Linked DNA regions of Homo sapiens: region 2 is linked to region 1. Evidence: promoter capture Hi-C in 16 types of primary human blood cells and fetal thymus (Javierre and others, 2016). All regions are on one chromosome and are shown on one strand. The core of a region is centred on a gene start or on the middle of the fragment in contact, and the rest is flanking DNA. Distances in the headings are between cores, read along the strand shown. Region 1 holds the start of SH3BGRL2 (SH3 domain binding glutamate rich protein like 2). Region 2 overlaps SH3BGRL2 (SH3 domain binding glutamate rich protein like 2).

Region 1 (2,700 bases), core at 50-2,549:
TTCTTTTTAAATAAAAAACTTCAGTGGTGTACAAGGATTTTCAAACAATATTTTATTCCATCCTCCACTCCACCCACTTAAGAAACAAATTTTGGAACAATCTGACTGAGCTACTGGGCAGACAATTGACCAGACCAAATTTAAGCAATCTACAATGCACTTTTTGATGTTACTTGATTATATATGTCACAAAGGAGGCTCTTAAATCTATAGCTGAACTCTTGGTTAAGGAAACCAAGTCTCAATAATCATGTAAAACACATGTGCTATGTCCCTTAGTGGGCTGTCAAATATACTAACTACTGAATTTTCCTTAAATTCTGACATCTCTAGCTATTTAACTTTCCTTTCTTTAAAAAAATTTTTTTTCTCTAAAAAAATTCAAGAACATCCACCAAAGAGAATAGCTAAAAATAATTAAATAGAAAACCACAATTCATAGATCCCCAGGATAAAATTTCCACAGCATTACAGGTGGAAAGAAAATGCGTGCATACACACACATTTACATAAAGATGTAAAAATATTTATGGCACCCTAAGAAAAAAAATGACAGTGAAAGCAAACAATCCTACCACAACAGGACAAACCTAGTTTTACTATTCTCTTTGCGCAGGTATAAAACTAAACAAATGCACTTGCTGGCGGGGAAGGGAGGACAGAGAGCAATTCCCACTTAAACTTGCTTCATTCAGGAGCTAGGGTAACAAACCAAAGCAGCAGAAAAGGCTCCCGTGCAAAACATAACCAGTCTGAAGGTCCCAAATCGGGAAGAACTAAACTAGGGGAAGGGGGATCCCCGAAGCTCTTGAACAACCCGTTCCCCAAATTTCCATGCCACACAACAGGAGCTGGGGGCTTCCCTCGGACTCCATTTTCAGGCCGCGTTGTCTGCCTTTCAGGCCACGCAGGGTGGGCATTTGGGTGAGGCCGGGGTCCCCCACCCACCTTTCCTCCCCGCCCTCTTCATTGTTGTCGGAGTGTGATGGATCACCTGCCGGGCGCGGGCTCCCGCGGGCGGACCGGCTGAGCGCAAGGACGCGCAGTGACGAGCGCCGCGCGCCTCCCGCAGGACCCGCGCCCCGCGACCCCAACCTACTGCCCGCCCCCACCGCGCTCACCGCCACGAAGCCCGAGGAAGAGGCGATGAACACGCGGATGACCATCCTCTCGCTGCGCCCGGGACAGACCCCTTGCCCCCCGGGCTCCGGGCTGGCGTGGACGCAGAGCTGAACCCAGCTACGAGCCGCCGGCAGCCTCTGGGTAAAGCGCTGCCGTCGGGGAAGATCGCTGGGATCTGGCTCCCTCCCGGCGGGTCCGCAGATAAAAGCCCAGCGCCGCCCGGCCGCAGGCTGAAGGGGAAGGAGAGGGAGGAGGAGGGAGCCGGCTGCGGGGCTTGATGGGATTTGTAGTTTCCGTCTCTCCCTGGAGTGGCTGGTGGACTGAGCTCCCCTCCTGACCGCGCTTCTATCCCGAACACGCGCAGGTGGCTGGAGGGGAGCCACAGCCCGGGCAGAAGCTGTGAGGTGGGTTGGCAAGGATCCTGGCTTGATGAGGAAAAAGCAAACTAGGCAAAAGGGCTCGGTTCAAAGTCCAAGCTTGGGTTCTGTATTGTGGTTTATTGGTTTGGAGCATCCACACCCAGAAATGCCAACAGACACGATCGTGCTGCGGGCACACATCGTCTCAGGGCCGCTGGCGTACCGGGCAAACCCCAGCTACCTGAAGCAGGCGGGATCGGCGAGCCGGGTGCTTGGGAGGTGTGGGCGGTGGGGTTGGGCTCGTTTGTTTGTCCAGTAGCACTGGAGATTGCAGAAAGGTGATTCTTTTGGGTAAATGAGAGGTCTTCTCTTGTCTGTACACACTGAAAATTAGAAACCCAGATGGAAGCACAACCAATATTTTATTTTTCTCAGCAAAACTGTAATTGTAGTAGAAAAAAATAAATACCAAACGAAATTGGAATCCTTCTATCAACATTGGAAATCAGGACCCTACCTGCCCCACCCCTCCCTACACAATGGCTTCGCCTCTGTGCACCTAATATTTACAGTTCAGCCAAATCTGTGCCTTTTTCAGAACCGCTGCACATTCCAGCGCAGTTTCCCAGGAGGATGCTGTTAAATAAAAAGCTTCTATATAGTTGCTAATAGTTTAGGAATAGTTTTTTATCAAGTGCTTTCTGTTTGACAAAAGCTCAAGCCTCTCTCTCAGTTTTGTCGAAAGGAACCAGTTTTCCCTGCTGTACTGTATTTACTTTTTTCCTTTCAACACGGGAGTTTAGCAGAGGTCTGGGAACAATGTTAATTAAGAAAAAGTAAGAAATTAGATGATGAGGTCTCTGGCTCTTTGATACATTTCTTGCACAAAGAGCAATCATTATGAAGTATTTTTTAGAACAGTTATGAATATTTCAAATTTATAACCTTTCCTATTGCTTTTCTTAAAGCCATTTCTGTAGTAGGAATCTTTTTAAATTTCCTTCAATAATAGAAGAGACACTCCTAATGGGACTTTATTTCTTCTTCGTGTTTAAAATTTTAAATAGAAGTTTTGCTGTCTTTAGTATCTCTCGGCAAATGTACTTTAATTTTGCTACCATAAATGTGGAAATGCACGTTTATAAAATAGAAAATAATTTTCTTAAAAGTAGATACCGTATTTCCTATATAAATGCAAATCTTTATAAAAGTCAGCATT
Region 2 (2,700 bases), core at 119-2,618, 35 kb before region 1:
GCCTTGGAGATATTACTTGGCATCTCTCTTAGCTTCCATTTCCAAACCTGTGAAATAAACTGCTAAATTAAGTTTAGCCTAAGGCCAGGAGCGGTGGCTCACGCCTGTAATCCCAGCACTTTGGGAGGCTGAGGTGGACAGATCACCTGAGGTCAGGAGTTCGAGACCAGCCTGGCCAACATAGTGAAACCTCATCTCTACTAAAAATACAAAAATTAGCTGGCTGTCATGGCATGTACCTGTAATCCCAGCTACTCAGGAGGCTGAGGTGGGAGAATCCCTTGAACCCAGGAGTCAGAGGTTGCAGTGAGCTGAGATCACACCACTGCACTCCAGCCTGGGCGACAGAGTGAGACTCTGTCTCAATTAAAAAAAAAAAAACTTAGCCTAAAGCTACCTCCTTACATATTTTGAGTTCAGCCTAAAGGTTGCTCCATCCATAGTGAACTGTAACCTAACTAGATACGTAAACAGATTGTAACCTACTCTTGGACCAATCACAGCATTTCAGCCAATTAAGGCAGCCAACTATTCGAACTGTGTCCAAACAAGGCAAGCGCCAAGCTGTAACCAATCTAACTTCCATTAGATTATTCCCGTTTTTGTACCTAACTTCCTTTTTCTGTACATAAATTCTTTGTGACTATGAAGCAGTGTCAGAGTCCTTCTGAACCTATGCTGGTTCAGGGGGCTGCCCAATTCACAAAATATTCTTGGTTCAGTAAAACTCTGTTAAATATAATCTGCATAAAGCTTTTCTTTTAATAGAACCCAATTATCTTTTTTCCATAGGTTCACTGGAAAATTAAACAAGAAAAGGCCTAAGCAGTAATGGGCACCTGCTCAATTGTTTCATTCACTCAAACATACTAGCTTTTCTATCTTTGCCCTAGATGTGGCCTCTGTCAAAAATATAGTAACTTCTGAGTGCTTTCAAAGGCTTTAGATATTCAACACAACAGTTCTTTATTTCACCTGCTTTCACACTTCAAACACACAGCTTTCTTTATTCTGACTTGGGGTAGATGTAAGGCTGATTAGGACCTCTTATGTATCTCAAATAGAAAAAAGTCAGACAGTGAGAGAAAATAGAAGGGAAAAGTTTTTTTTAAAACAGCTTGACGAAACTTACAAAGGAGGGCCTGGACTGGATTAAGGAAGGTAGAAGGCCCTAAGTTGATTCTTCCTTTCAACTAACAAGGGAGGAAAGGGCTGAGGCTCTTTCCCTTGTCAAAGACCTCAGGAACTTTCCAGTGATTGAGTAGGGTACCTCAAATATACCTAATTTCATGGCAAATTCTTTAAATAAAACACCATCCTTGGCCTTATTAGGGATTATGCTGTCAAAAAAGAGGATGCAAATGGCAGAAAGTACTGTGGCAGACATTAGCCTAGTTACACCAAAGCCATTCATGATCTGCCCTGTGAAGTCTAAAAAACTAAAGCTCAGTGTACTAGGTGGAGCTTCTGGACAGAGCTTGGCTTTTCTGCTGAAGCCGACAGATTACAATGCTAAGGCCCCTTGTCCCTGCCCTTCCTCATTCTTCCAGCTTGGCATCCAGATGTGAGGGCTAGTGGTGTGGGGCAGCCTTTCCACGTTGAGGTGACAGGCATCAGAAAAGGCCAAGAGAATCCCAGCAAGGCAGGCCCTCGACAAGTTCAGCCTCCAGACTTACCAGGAGAGACTGAAACACCTCTGTTTAAGCTCATGTTAGACAGGTTCTCTGTTACTTGCAAATGAACACATTCCTAACTGAAACCCTCAGCAGTACGCCTCATTGTTGGGGAGCAGGGCAGGGGTGTAGAGTAACCCCCAAGAAGCCATTTGCTAACTGGCAATGTTCTAATGCTGCTTAACTAAATGAGAGATTATACATAAAGTACAGTGTCTCCAGTTTCTATTTCAGTTTATCTTACTAGAAAGCAAATACCAGATTACCAAGCCAAGGATAAAGAGGCTGACTTACAAAAGACTGAAGCTTGAGTTTTACAGAATCCCTGTCAGAAAGACAGATTATAAAATAAAGGTCAATTTTTGAAAAACTGTTAGTACATGTTATAAATTGAAACAATATAATTTTAATGATAGAAAATGCTGTGGTTTTCCATCTATGTATCACTAGCACAGTCCCTGGCACTTACTACATGGGCAAATATTTGTATTAAACAAATAAATATTATTAAGCTTGAATTCATACTTTTAACTTTGGTTTTCTTTTTAACCAGTCAATATTTTTGGTCCTGTTTTCTTGATCAATTTGCATTGGTTTCTTTTTTACATGTTTATAATATGGTAAATCATCTTTCCCATTTGAAATTTTTTAATTTTAAAAAACCCATAATCTCATCACGCTGAGGCTTTTATTTTTCATAGAACCTTCCAGGGAGCCCACATTTAGAAGTAGACTTTATATAGTTGCCATAATAACAAATGTTTTGGGGAAGGATGTTTCTGTTGTATTACGAATATTTTTTGTTTCTAAAATCTCCATAGCTATCTTATTGCATGTATGAATTATATTGAGTACTTATGCTAATGTATTTAAACATTATTCTAACATTGGAGATTTAGGTGTGTTGTAAAGATGGTGTTTCAAATTTGCTGAATTTTTATTTTTTTATTTATTTAGAGACGGAGTCTCGCTCTGTTGCCCAGGCTGGAGTGCAGTGGCTCGATCTCAGCTCACTGCAAACTCCTCC

The links. The method cuts DNA at HindIII sites, captures the fragments that hold promoters and counts their contacts. A CHiCAGO score of 5 or more calls a contact.
Region 2: a contact is called between a fragment that was not itself captured here and the fragment with the promoter of SH3BGRL2 in region 1, in 1 of 17 cell types (megakaryocytes). The highest score is 6.8, in megakaryocytes.

The regions. Positions count from the first base shown.
Region 1 is chr6:79,629,928-79,632,627 of GRCh38, reverse strand. It overlaps SH3BGRL2 (SH3 domain binding glutamate rich protein like 2), which reads right to left and starts at 1,299. Exons shown (of 4, transcript NM_031469.4): 1 at 1,122-1,299. The coding sequence starts at 1,166. The HindIII fragment of the contact is 2,885 bases long and covers 1-1,600 here.
Region 2 is chr6:79,665,129-79,667,828 of GRCh38, reverse strand. The region is part of intron 1 of SH3BGRL2 (SH3 domain binding glutamate rich protein like 2); the gene reads right to left. Among named protein-coding and RNA genes, the nearest start is that of SH3BGRL2, 35 kb to the right of the region's middle. The HindIII fragment of the contact is 1,226 bases long and covers 756-1,981 here.